5 separate regions of the Homo sapiens genome follow, and all the other regions are linked to region 2. The links are contacts of gene promoters, found by promoter capture Hi-C in blood cells and fetal thymus (Javierre and others, 2016). All regions are on one chromosome and are shown on one strand. The core of a region is centred on a gene start or on the middle of the fragment in contact, and the rest is flanking DNA. Distances in the headings are between cores, read along the strand shown.

Region 1 (2,700 bases), core at 160-2,659, 2.1 Mb before region 2:
AAGGCTTTCCTAATAGGCTGATCACAGAGAATAATCCATTTTGAAGGTATAAAACTGCACTGTATGTCTGTCACTTGTAGCTGAACTGATTCACATTTTGACAAAAGAGAGAAAATACAAAAATGAGTTTTGCAAATGTAATAACTTTTTCTGCATATAGAACTAAATAATTGAAAAATATGGGCTATAGTTCTCAAAGGTAGATAGTAAAATCACTGGCTTTTTCCAGCTGTATGTTTTTCCACTGTGCGTGTACACACACACTGGAAAATAATTAGGCTGATTTTGCAGGTCTTCATTGTTAGAGATTCTGAAGTATTTACTGTCAATTCATAGGTTTCAGTTTATTTAGGAAATTAGTGTTTGACAGCTTTTTTTAAATTATTTCACTGAAGCTGAGATTATTAGTGATACAAAGTTAAAATTTCAATATTTAATTTCTCTATATATTATTAATATTAAATTGTTTTTTACTTATAAATTCATGTTCTCATCTGATTTAATATTAAATTTGTATAGGTGGGCGTTTCTTACCATTTTGCACAAGTTTTTGTTTTTCTGAAATACTTAATTGTGCAGGTTGTAAAAAAGATTAGTGCATTTTCATTTTAAGGATGCTTTGCTCCTTAAATTGTTCGACAGAAATGACTTTTTAGGGAAAGTAGTTTTTTTGGAGCTACTAACTTGTATTTATTATTGTACATGCATAACCAGGGTGGTGAGGGCACTAATCTTGTAGGAAACACTTACTTGATGTTTTATTTGAACTTTTCCTATAGGTTTAACTTTTACTGCATAGAATTAACACTAGGAACAGTGTCATGAAATCTGGGTTGAAGGAGAATACAGTATATATGAGAACACTTAAAGTTCAAATAGAAATCATTTCTGAAGACAAAAGCAGAGGAATATTGTCAGTGCCAAGTAATGGAAGAATAAGGGCGGCATTTACACTGTGCAAGTATTGAGAAGAGTGCATAAAGACAGGGAACTACTCTCATGGAGACAGTTTCTCTCTTATAATCAAGTAACTAGAAGGGGAAAAATCATCTAAGTTATGAAATCCAACATAGGCGCTATATTACAAACTGTGCCGGATTATGCAAATTGTAGTTGTTACTGATCAAAGTTTAATTGCTTCATTTTTGTTTAAAAAGGGATACTGATGTCAGAAAATCTGTAATATGTTTTATTCAAAAGATGTAAATAATGTATACAGACTTGTATGTGATGGGATGGGAAATATTTAAATTCTAGGTGTTTTTTTTTTTTTAAAGAAGAAACTCAATGTTTATAAGAAAAAAATGAATAAATAGTTACGTTTGGCCATGAATCCTGACTTTGCATTACTGTTTATTTTTGCTATAGGCATTCCCACACTAAACACATTCCAAGGGAAATATTGATGGCATATGGAATATGTTGAACATTTAAAATTTGTTAGGCACTATTTTCTGTAATGTTCACAACAACCAGTGTCTTAACATCTTAGAAAACTAAAGCTCAGAAATTGTACAAGTCACTGATTTGGATTACGGTTTTAAAACCCTACTGTGTCTGAACTTGAAACCAGTGTTTCTGTTTTACTTTTTTCACTTTTTTCTTTATTCTGCAGTATGCAGGTGTATGTTTTCTATAATATATACTATTACAGTGAGAACAGTTAGCACAGTAATAATCATTTGTTGACCTCTTCACCAAGCTATTATTTAATATTTTGTCTTCATTACAGATCATTAAGGAATATTAATAATATTGGAGAATCATTTACCAAGTTCCAAAAGGAAATGTGTATTTTATTTTATTTTATTTATGAGACGGAGTCTTGCTCTGTTGCCCAGGCTGGAGTGCAATGGCACGACCTCAGCTCACTGCAACTTCCACCTCCTGGGTTCAAGTGATTCTCCTGCCTCAGCCTCCCAAGTAGCTGGGATTACAGGCATATGCCACTATGTCCGGCTAATTTTTTGTATTTTTAGTAGAGACAGGGTTTCACCATGTTGGCCAGGCTGGTCTCAAAACTCCTGACCTAAGGTGACCCATGAGCTTTGGCTTCCCAAAGTGCTGGGATTATAGGCGTGAGCCATCGCGCCTGGCCAAAACGTGTATTTTAGAAGTCTTCTCAGAGTATCAGAAGTATTTATGTTAGAGGCATTTGTGTTTGAATCTTCAGGTTAAGAATATTTAATGGTAGTAGCCACAGTTGCTCAAAGTCACTAATGGTATTTGGGAGAAAGACTAGTTGAAATGCTAGCCAATGCTGTTGTGGACTGTGTCTGCATGCTTTAAAAACGCCCTGTGGGCCGGGCGCGGTGGCTCACGCCTGTAATCCCAGCACTTAGGGAGGCCGAGGTGGGCGGATCACGAGCTCAGGAGTTGAGACCTGCCTGGCCAATGTGGGGAAACCCCATCTCTACTAAAAAATACATTAAAAAATTAGCCGGGCACGGTGGCGCTTGCCTGTTGTCCCAGTTACTCGGGAGGCTGAGGCAGGAGAATTGCTTGAATCCGAGAGGCGGACTGTGCCACTGCACTCCAGCCTGGGCGACAGAGCAAGACTCCGTCTCAAAAAATAAAAAAATAAAAACACTCTGTTATTCATTTATTGTGTGTAAAGAAATATATATTGTAAAATTACCTACATTTTGATAATTAGGTTCATTTACCTCTGTTGTACTAAATGTATTATAAGTTGTTAAT
Region 2 (2,700 bases), core at 169-2,668:
CACAACCAAATTCACAATGCATACTTATCCATGTGATCCTGTGCAAGTAACTTAACCTCTAAAATCATGTTCCCTCACATATAAAATATATAACAGCACCTACTTCACAGGGTTACAAATATTAGATAAGAACTGCACCCTGGGCTTTACTGTTCCATCTCTACATTTCCTAGTAACGTAAGCGGAGAAAACAGCAGTTTGTTAAGAACCTTTAATACACTGTGATAGCCACAAATCAAAAGTAAAAATAGCATTTATTCCTGCCCTGTGCTCATTCTTCCTGTAAAATGGCTCACTGCCTTAATGTTGCTGCTGATTCCGTTCCTGTTTTGTTTCCGGTTTTTTTTCCCCATGCTCACAACCTGAAAACAAGAAAGCCACTATTTTTGAAATATCCCATTTGAATAATCAAGCACTTTAACCCGTATTATCTGACTTGCTCTGATAACGCTGTGAAGTAGGCAAGGAAGGTACTGCTAGCCTGATTCCTCAGAAAAAAGGATTCAGCATTAAAAGGTCAAGTAACTGCGACCAACCAGACACAGTCTTAGTCGGGTCTGGAGAGGAAACAAGTTCGCAAACTGTTAGTCTAGTAGTTTCTTCCTAATAAGAAAGACCAGCTGGAATACTTTGGGACGAAAGACACTGCAGACATACTGGCTATTAAAACTTTTAAGACATAAATTTTGTAGGTTTCGCCAACACAATTTCTTCTGCGACTGATTTCTTTGTCTCCGTTCCCCGAGAGCAAGTATAGTAACCACTTGTGCTTGGAGCACAAATCCAGTAAGACAAAAGAAATGACAGGTACACGTGTCACAAAGTATCTTATTTAACACACCTAATGCTAGTTCAATTTTTTTTAACGCTAAAATGGTCACAATGAAATGGTCACGATGATTAAACACTAAGCACTGCAGAAGGCAACATCGTGCGATCGAAAACCCTGAGTGAATGTCGGCCTTCCTCCGCCGCAGGGGTTGCAGCGCAGGGTACGCGCACGGCTCGGCGCCCCTCACCTTGGCCAGGATGTAGTGCTGGTAGGCTGCCAAAGGCAGCGTGACAGCACCCCGTAAGGCCACGGTGGAGAGCAGAATGCTGCCCCACCAGGGCAGGCCCGTGGCGGCGTGCACGCCGAGCAGTACTTCCTCCGCAACCCGCACCGGCGAAGACGCGGCCAGGGCCTCGTACCAGCCGTTCGCATGTACTGCAGAGACTGGTGCCACTGCCCACACTGGGAGAGTGGGGCGCTTGGCGCCGCTCGTAGGAACCGGCGCAAGCGGCAGGTCCCTAGCCCAAAGCTGCAGGGCAGGGAGCGGCCGCAGCCACCGACCGCCGAGCCGGCACAGCATTTCTGCACCACGGCGGAGCCCAGATCCCGGGCCTCACAATCCAGCGGACATACACCGGCCAGCCAAGGCTGATACGCGCACGCGCCAGCAACAGCGGGCATAAAGCGCATGCGCGCCTGCCTGCAGCCGCGATTGACCTTCCCAGTCAAGCCGGTGACGTCTTGCGTCGCAGTGGATGTGACGCAAGAGATAGGAAAGTCCCGCCTTTCCCACGCGGCACTGGACAGGCCTACTGCGCACACGCGAAAGTTTCCCGCTGCTAGGGTGTAGTTAGTCCGAGGCCGGACCAAAACTGCAGAGACATGGGTGGAGCCTGCTGCCCTCCGCCAGGCTGGGTGTTCTTTAGGGAGCTCTCGCCTTGTAAAGTTCATCTACACCGTGTAACTTACCATTCTTTTTCACTAAAGCTAATAGTCATTTGTAGTGGAATTATCCTTGCTCGGTTTTTTGTGACCAGAAGCTGATCCCCAACCTCTTTACGTGCACCTGATTGCTTCCGTTAGCGATTACGATAGATTATCATACTCAAGAGTCACACGTTGCTAAAGTACCTGCTTGTAGAGAGACGCATGTTTCTTGCTGACTCTGAGTGTTAAGCACGAGGGATAGTTCAGTCTCTTGTAGATTTAATTGGCCCATCTGTTCCAGTTAGTATTTGGACCACCAACTGCAAACTGAATTTCTTCGGTGTTTTGTCTTCCATGATAAATAGCAGCAAAAATCTTATAGTAAAAGTATCATCTCTTTATTTAAGGGAAACTATCACTGGCAGTACGGTGAATTCCTTGAGTTTACTTGTATCCTATATAAGCTTTAAAGAGCCTGAACAGCAGCACTGGCTGTCTTCTGGTTTAAAGGAATACGTTGAATCTACATGGACTATATAGTTTTAACTTTTGTGTTCCTGGAAACAACAAAATGGAATGTTGTGGAGGAGTTTCCTCACCGAAGGGTCACCCCTAGACTACAGACTAAAATATGTTGTGAGGAGTAAACCTTGATTTTTATTTATTTATTTATTTACTTACTTAGGAAAAGAAGCCTCCAACAATGTTGGGTAATGTCAAACGCCAGCTATTGTTTGCCCTTCACTGTGCACCTAACCAAGGGTACCCTACGATAACTTTCTCAGGATTCTGGAATTCATCTGCTTTCCAAACTGACTGATAAATCTATACATGAATTTTTAAATGTGTTTAAACACACAGCACAACACACACTATATATAAACTTTTTCTAAAAGAAAAACCTACCAATCTATTTCTTTATCCATTTATTAAGCTAACAAAAAAGCCATCAGTTGCTACTGACTACTGTTCAGCTGTTCATAATCTGAACAGAATTTTAA
Region 3 (2,700 bases), core at 81-2,580, 2.2 Mb before region 2:
TTTTTCTTTTTGAGACAGAGTCTCTCTCTGTCACCACGGCTGGAGTACAGTGGTGTGAACTCAGCTCACTGCAACCTCCGCCTCCCAGATTCAAGCGATTCTCCTGCCTCAGCCTCCCAGGTAGCTGGGACTACGGGAGCGTGCCACCACGCCCGGCTAATTTTTTTTGTATTTTTAGGAGAGATGGGGTTTCAACATGTTAGCCAGGATGGTCTCGATCTCCTGACCTCGTGATCCGCCCGCCTCGGCCTCCCAAAGTGCTGGGATTACAGGCGTGAGCCACCGCACTTGGACCCGATAGGTATTTTTTAATCTTCTCCCCAACCCTCAAGTTGGCCCTGGTGTCTTCTTGTTCCCCTCTTTGTGTCCATGTGTTCTCATTGTTTAGCTCCCACTTGTAAGTGAAAACATACAGTATTAAGTTTAATGTTCCATGTTAGTTTGCTTAGGATAATGGTCTCCAGCACCACCCACATTGCTGCAAAGCACATAATCTCACTCTTTGTTATGGCTACGTAGTATTCCATCATACCAGCCGGGCACGGTGGCTCACGCCTGTAATCCCAGCACTGTGGGAAGCCGAGGCAGGCAGATCACAAGGTCAGGAGATTGAGATCATCCTGGCTAACACGGTGAAACCCCAGCTCTACTAAAAATACAAAAAATTAACTGGGTGTGGTGGCAGTCGCTACTAGGGAGGCTGAGGCAGGAGAATGGTGTGAACCCGGGAGGCGGAGCTTGCAGTGAGCTGAGATCATGCCACTGCACTCCAGCCTGGCGACAGAGCGAGACTCCGTCTCAAAAAAAAAAAAACCTACATAGTATGATGGATTTTTTTTTTTTTTTGAGACAGAGTCTCACTCTGTCGCCCAGGCTGGAATGCAGTGGCACCATCTCGGCTCACTGCAAGCTCCACCTCCCGGATTCACACCATTCTCCTGCCTCAGCCTCCCAAGTAGCTGGGACTACAAGCCTGGGTAATTTTTGTATTTTTAGTAGAGACGGGGTTTCACTATGTTAGCCAGGATGGTCTCGATCTCCTGAGCTTGTGATCCGCCCGCCTCGGCCTCCCAAAGTGCTGGGATTACAGGCGTGAGCCACTGCGCCTGGCCCATACTATGCAGTCTTAACGTTAAAATACTTTTGTTGCATTCAAAGTCTTTATACATATGTAAATTGAGACAGTCTCACAGTGTTGCCCAGTGTGGTATGGAACTACTGGCCTCAAGCCATCCTTCCACCTTGGCCTCCCAAACTGCTGATTACAGGCCTGAGCCACTGCCCCTGGCCCAAAGTCTTTCAATTCGTTACATACCGCAAACAGCACACATGGTATCATTTGGTATATGCAACCAACCAGAATGAGACAGTTCCCAACCATCAAAAAGGAAGGTGACAGCGTAGTCTGACATGGATTTGTAGCACTACCTTTTACTCAGACAAAATTACATACTTAAAACATACATACCTGCTTGTGAGAAACAATATAAGGAAAAAAAATAAATAAATAAAACATACATAAAATATACCTGAAAAAAAGTTAAGCACATCTTCCATAGTGCATGACCAGGGCAGTCCTTGAGCTCGAATGAGAAAGACATCATCCACTTCCTCTTCTAACTTGGACGGGGCCAATTCATACTCAGGGGGTGGTGGAAGGTCTTCCAGGTAAGTAGTTTTGGACTCCTTCCAAAGGAAATGAAGAATTGTAAAAAGAGTTGCATTTACAGGTAAAAAATGTAAAAAAATTCTTAGAAAATGTTTATTCTACAAACTAACATTCTAGATGTTATTTCAGAAGCAAAAAGTAAACTTCACCAATGTAACCCATCCTGTTTTGGCTTAAATTGTACATCCAAAAGCCATAAGCAGGTATATCCTAAAGGTTTGGCAGGACACAAATTTCATTCAGGGTTTGTTTTAAAATTCATCAACCCCAAATTATAGCTAACAATAGTGTAGTTAAGGCAACACAAGAAAGGTCCTGACAATTTGACAAATATTTGATTGCCCCTACACACAGTGTTTGCCGCCCTCATCTGAAATAGCTATCTAGAATACGATAAGCATACAAGATGAGATACTGAGTGCTATAATTAAGATACAAAATACTACAGGAATTCAAATCAGAGCACTAACAGATGAATCAGGATGTGACATGAGATGGGCCTTGAAGGAAGGATAGAATTTTTATGAGGATATAAAAGATAGGGTATTCCAGTTTGAAGGCGAGAGAAAGAAGCAGTACGACCAAATGCCCATTTGAATAACAGCAATTAATTCCAACTGTTTAAATTAGGAGCCAAAGAAGGTGACCTGGCAAAAGAGGTTGGTACCATAGAGCAGAGGGCCTTGAGTGTGGAGCTCAATGTGTGTCCTTCACTTGGTAGGCAAAGATAAGTTAATACAAGACACTGAGGACTGGGTAAATCAACAAGACAGCAGGACGCCTTGGGAATATTCCTCTGTCAGCTGGTATGCCAGACCAAGTGATTAAGGGAAAGATCTTAAAGACAACGGCAGCAGTGTGAGGCTACAGACTTGTAAAGTCTCTTTTATCGGATTAAGTAAAACTGGAATTTAGTAAGAATCCACGAAGCACTACAACCATAACCTAAGAAGACAACTCAGGCTTTAAGACTTGCACTCTACTGGGCCAGGTGCGGTGGCTCACGCCTGTAATCCCAGCACCTTGGGAGG
Region 4 (2,700 bases), core at 45-2,544, 2.2 Mb before region 2:
CTGAAAACAGGGGTTACAGCCTGAGGAATAACTCCTTTGAAGGCTTCGTTGTGATGCACTCATTCCATGTTTAGTCTGTGTTTAGAAAACTAATAAAAAACTTAGAAGTTGAAACTCACCCATATACTGTTTTACTGTTGTGGAGAAATTAGCATTTAAAGGATATTTTCTTAAGATTTCTCTTCTTTCCTTGCCTAATAATTTTTAGTCATTACATTGACGTCTGAATACTGAGAATTTAATTCACTCTTATTTTCACATGCTCACATCTAGAATTTTTTTTTTTAGGGTGTTTAAGCAAAACTGAACAAGGCTGACCTAGGGGCAGACTTGATATTTCCAATATGCATAGGGGACCTGGCTTGTGTCAACTTGCCTAAAACCTTTAAACGGAAAGGGATTTCTTAGGCTCCTCCTAGAAGTTGATTCTGAGTTTGTCGGATTGGCATAGGGCTAGATGACAGGACTGGGTGATTTTATAAAAAAGTCCTTGTTTCTTATTTTAGTTCTTTTTTTTTTTTTTTTTTTTTTTTGAGACGGAGTCTCCGCTCTGTCACCAGGCTGGAGTGTGTAGTGGCGTGATCTCGGCTCACTGCAACCTCTGCCTCCCGGGTTCAAGCGATTCTCCTGCCTCAGCCTCCTGAGTAGCTGGGACTACAGGCCCGCGCCACCACGCCTGGCTAATTTTTGTATTTTTAATAGAGATGGGGGTTTCACCATGTTGGCCAGGCTGGTCTCGAACTCCTGATTTCAAGTGATCTGCCTGCCTTGATCTCCCAAAGTGCTGGGATTACAGACGTGAGCCCACCGTGCCTGGGCAGTTTCTTGTTTTAGTTCTAATCACCATATTCAGGTATCTCAACTTGAAGCTTCTCATCTTGAGCTTAATTTTACATTGCTAATGTTTGATTGTTTTCAAGAATTTAGAAGCTGTATTCAAAATAGCACTGTAGATGATATCCATGACTACTGCTGATGGGCTTGTGTCTAGTAAGCTAAATTGGTTAAAGCAAGGCCAGTCGCGGTGGCTCATGCCTGTAATCCCAGCACTTTGGGAGGCCAAGACAGGCAGATCACCAGGTCAGGAGTTCGAGATCAGCCTGGCCAATATGGTGAAACCCCGTCTCTACTAAAAATACAAAAATTAGCTGGGCAAGGTGGCACGCACCTGTAGTCCCAGCTACTTGGGAGGCTGAGACGGGAGTATCACTTGAACCCGGGAGGTAGAGGTTGAAGTGAGACGAGATCGCGCCACTGCACTCCAGCCTGGGTGGCAGAGTGAGACTCTGTCTCAAAAAAAAAAAAAAAAAAGGTTAAAGCAGGGAAGAGCCATATTTGGCTGAAACTAGGGGATGGAGAAGTTTCTGATGCTATTTTTTGAATACAAATACAGTAGAATCCTATTTTTACATGGCTCAGTATTTAATAGATTCAGATTTGTGGTGGATTAGTTTGTTTCTCCTGAAGGTTAGTAACTACAAAAGAAATCTTGCTGTAACTAATGTATATAGAACTTTAGAGCATTTGCACTATTTGGGGCACAATTTTTCAGTTAGGTTATATCTATCTAGCAGTTGATATATTCTCAACATATTTAGCCCATGTGCTTGACAATCAGAAAAGTTAATTCAACATTTTCAGTTTTGGTCTTTGTCTACCGTCAATTAAAAATCCAAAGTGAACACCACATGGAAATGATTATTATTGGAAGTGAAAGAACAAAGCTTTGGTTATTTCTTCTATTTGTTATTTGGTATAACTGTCTGAATACTGTTTCTTTTTTTTTTTTTGGAGACAGGATCTCACTCTGTCGACCAGGATGGAGTGCAGTGGCATGACCACAGCTAACTGTAGCTTTGACTTCCCAGGCTCAGGTGATCCTTTCATCTCAAACCCCCTCCCCGCTACAAGTAGCTGGTACTACAGGTATGCTCCACTATGCCTAGCTAATTTTTTTTTTTTCGGTAGAGTCAGGGTTTTGCCATGTTGCCCAGGCTGGTCTCCTGGGCTCAAACAATCCACTCATCTTTGCCTTCCAAGATGCTGAGGTTACAGGTGTGAGCCATTACACCTGGCTATCTGAATACTATTTCTGTACCAACAGATGAGCAGAGAAGGAAAGCGTTACAGCTTAGGAGTTAAATACAAATATTTTCCTCCCGTTCTTGGAAGCTTACTGGGAAGCCTACGATCAGTGGATGGAGCAGAGGAAATAAGGGCAATGCAAGATGGGGCTGCAAAGGTGGTGACTCATGACTCTTGAGGGCTCTAAGATAGAAGGAAAGAACTACTACTGATTTTTAAAAGATGCACTGTGGGCCGGGCACAGTGGCTCCTGCTTGTAATTCCAACACTTTGGGAGGCTGAGGTGAGTGGATCACTTGACCCCAGAGTTCCACACCAACCTGGACAACATGGCGAAACTCTCTTTCTACCCCTAAAAATACAAAAATTAGCCAGGTGTGGTGGTGTGAGCCTGTAGTCCCAGCTACTCTGGGGGCTGAGGTGGAAGGGTCATCTGAGCCTGAGGAAATTAAATACTTCAAGGCTGTGGTGAGATGTAATCATGCCACTGCACTCTAGCCTGGCTGATAGAGAGTGAGACTCTGTCTTAAAAAAAAAAGGCCGGTCGCGGGGCATAATGGCTCAGGCCTGTAATCCCAGCACTTTGGGAGGCCGAGGTGGGTGGATCACTTGAAG
Region 5 (2,700 bases), core at 200-2,699, 2.0 Mb before region 2:
ATATTTACGGGGAAGAAATGAAGAGCAAGGCATTCCTCTTGAATATTTAGAGAAGCTTCATTATAAACATGAAAGCTGGCTCCTGCATAGGACACTGAAGTAAGACTTATTTTTATTTACTATTCATTTTAAATACCTTTGTTACCTTTGTTAAATTTTAATCTAAAATTTGGAAGATATGACTAGCAATATGTAAAATTTCCAGTCGTTTTGCTTATTGGTATCTTCCAGAACTAGGTATAGATTTTCATTCTCTTGATTGCAATGAGATCCTATTTACTTAAAGTTTTTATAACTAGTATCCCTTGGTGGTATTGATAGCGTAATATGTGAAATTTCACTTTAAGTGATAAAGTAGGAATATATCTGAACATTATTTAGGTACTCTTTCAGAAAGAATTTTGACTTGGGAGATTGTATAGCGTGGTTGTTGAGAGGATAGACTTTGTTATTAGTCAGATCTTGGCTCAAGTCCAGTCTTACTGGTGTGTGACCTTGGATAGCCTCTGAGCTTCAGAATGACAATTCTGAGCTTTAGTTTTCTCATCTTTAAAAATGCAGAAATTCCTACTTTATTGACTGCTATTTGTTTTTGAAGAGAATCATATGTTACAGTACCCAGCTGTATATATTTTGTACCTAAGTTTTTGGGCTCCATATGGTAAATCTAGATGAGAAAGAAGGGGCTGCCAGATGAAGTACTGCAAAGTAACTTTAGTGTAAATGATTGACAACATTTTGATTTTCCAAGGACATACGAATGAATTTTTAATGTTTCTCTCTTTTTTTTGTTGAATTTCTGATTATTTTATTAATCTCTCTTTTTAAACAGAACCAACTTCGATTATCTTCAAGAGGTGCCTATCTTAACACTGGATGTTAATGAAGACTTTAAAGACAAATATGAAAGTCTGGTTGAAAAGGTAGATTTAGACAGACTACAAACAAATATTTGTTTTTTCTAAAAAAGTGTACTGAGTGGTGAGAAAACAATTTTCTAACAGAAAAGCTTCCATAAAGTTACATTAAGAAACAGTTAAGAGCTTTAGAAGATTTTGGACTGTTTAAGATTCCAGTCCTGACTAAATTCTAGCTTTGTGGCCTGAGCTAAAATAAAGATCCTTCGGAATCTCAGAATCTGACAGATCTTAGAAAAAAATTAAATAAATAAAAATAAAATAAGGATTTTTTTTTATCCTTTAGTGCCTCTATCTGTAGGATAGGTAAAATTATAATAACAAAAATTCTTTCTCACCCCCTTTTTCTCTGCTTTGTCCCCATTTCTTCCTCTCTTCCCTACACCACCAATCTTTAGATACTTTAATAATAAACTGCTTGTGAAATTAAATTTATCTTTTTCAACTAAATTCAATATGGAGGATATTTAAAGTTACAGGATATGGATCTCATCTATTTTTATGTTGGCCAAAGTCTTGAGATTAAGGGATTTTAGTTTTGAGTTTCATTTGGGATCATGTCAAGGATTAATTGACATTACTTAATCATTGAGTCATTGTCTTAATCACAGTTCATTTATTGCCCAAATCACTGGGAGTTGACTATATTCTGTTAAGTGAGTGGTGCCCATATTGATAAAGGGAATGGGTGAGAATTTATTGATGAATATTTGAGAGAGAATAGTAAGGGAATTGGTATAACAAATATCCCTATACCCATGTTGATAACTGAGTGATTAAGCTATAAAGAAGAAAGCACAATTTGGTTTAGTTTTGAGAAAAATTTGATTTTTCCTTTCTTTTGTGGCATAATGTCTGCTGTTTAATAGAGACTTGACATTCATAAGGGATATATCAAGGATTTTGAAAATCTTGACATTTTATGTAACTACTGTAGCGTATACATGTAGTTGTTTTTCCCATGGTATGAACTAAAGCTTATCTGGAAAATTCCAATGACCTCTTCATACTACTAATGATGTTAAAAATATAGGATAAATTCACTTACAATACTATTAAATGAAAAGTCAGCATTAAGTATTAACAGCCAACCATCAATTTAACTGACTTTGTAAATCACTTTTTAATTTTATCTAACACTTCTTTGTTTTGACTAAGAATCATTTCACATTATTATATTTACTTTTATTAATAATGCTAGCAGTTGACTTTCTTATTAAGGTATTTTTACAAGGCAATAATTTTTGTTTCTTGAGAATTATTGAGTAGCCTAGAATATGTAGAGAACAAGCATATTCTTACATTATGGTCAGTAGGCTAGGTTCATTGACTCCTTACATGATTTTCTGCACACACTGACATTGCAAAGTATGTGATTCACATATGTGCTTCAGAAACATGACAAATCTACTACATGTTTGATTTTCAAAGTTGCTTGAACTATTGTGCTTATTAATGTTATCAGTGTTAAAGCTGCATATGTCAGTGGTCTATGATATTTAAATGAAGAGATTATAAAATTGGTGTTACAGCTATTTTAGAACTATATCTATCTTAGATTGATAGATGCAGTGGCTCACACCTGTAATCCCAGCACTTTGGGAGGCTGAGGTGGGAAGACTGCTTGAGCCCAGGAGTTCCTGACCAGCTTGGGCAACATAGTGAGACCTCATCTCTATAAAAAACAAACAAAAACTAGCCAGACATGATGGTGTGCACCTAGCCAGGAGTTCAAGGCTGCAGTGAGCTTTGATTGCACCACTGTACTCAGCCTGGGTGACAG

Evidence for each region. The method cuts DNA at HindIII sites, captures the fragments that hold promoters and counts their contacts. A CHiCAGO score of 5 or more calls a contact.
Region 1: a contact is called between a fragment that was not itself captured here and the fragment with the promoter of COX18 in region 2, in 1 of 17 cell types (total CD4 T cells). The highest score is 6.7, in total CD4 T cells.
Region 3: a contact is called between a fragment that was not itself captured here and the fragment with the promoter of COX18 in region 2, in 4 of 17 cell types (total CD8 T cells, non-activated CD4 T cells, activated CD4 T cells and 1 more). The highest score is 11.1, in total CD8 T cells.
Region 4: a fragment that was not itself captured here is called in contact with the fragment with the promoter of COX18 in region 2 in 2 of 17 cell types (activated CD4 T cells and fetal thymus); the score reaches 6.1 in activated CD4 T cells.
Region 5: a fragment that was not itself captured here is called in contact with the fragment with the promoter of COX18 in region 2 in 1 of 17 cell types (total CD8 T cells); the score reaches 6.2 in total CD8 T cells.

Annotation. Positions count from the first base shown.
Region 1 is chr4:70,986,836-70,989,535 of GRCh38, forward strand. It overlaps MOB1B (MOB kinase activator 1B), which reads left to right. Exons shown (of 6, transcript NM_173468.4): 6 at 1-1,333. Among named protein-coding and RNA genes, the nearest start is that of DCK, 5.5 kb to the right of the region's middle. The HindIII fragment of the contact is 3,316 bases long and covers 1-2,700 here.
Region 2 is chr4:73,068,298-73,070,997 of GRCh38, forward strand. COX18 (cytochrome c oxidase assembly factor COX18) reads right to left here and starts at 1,419. Exons shown (of 6, transcript NM_001297732.2): 1 at 1,020-1,419. The coding sequence starts at 1,352. It overlaps LOC112268467 (a long non-coding RNA gene), which reads left to right and starts at 1,649. Exons shown (of 2, transcript XR_002959797.2): 1 at 1,649-1,732. RefSeq lists enhancers at 738-1,253, 1,188-1,707, 1,254-1,770. The HindIII fragment of the contact is 3,732 bases long and covers 1-2,161 here.
Region 3 is chr4:70,834,629-70,837,328 of GRCh38, forward strand. It overlaps GRSF1 (G-rich RNA sequence binding factor 1), which reads right to left. Exons shown (of 10, transcript NM_002092.4): 2 at 1,530-1,686. Among named protein-coding and RNA genes, the nearest start is that of GRSF1, 3.9 kb to the right of the region's middle. The HindIII fragment of the contact is 4,947 bases long and covers 1-2,700 here.
Region 4 is chr4:70,903,466-70,906,165 of GRCh38, forward strand. The region is part of intron 1 of MOB1B (MOB kinase activator 1B); the gene reads left to right. Among named protein-coding and RNA genes, the nearest start is that of MOB1B, 2.4 kb to the left of the region's middle. The HindIII fragment of the contact is 855 bases long and covers 868-1,722 here.
Region 5 is chr4:71,025,833-71,028,532 of GRCh38, forward strand. DCK (deoxycytidine kinase) reads left to right here. Exons shown (of 7, transcript NM_000788.3): 5 at 1-99; 6 at 833-923. Among named protein-coding and RNA genes, the nearest start is that of DCK, 34 kb to the left of the region's middle. The HindIII fragment of the contact is 885 bases long and covers 1,008-1,892 here.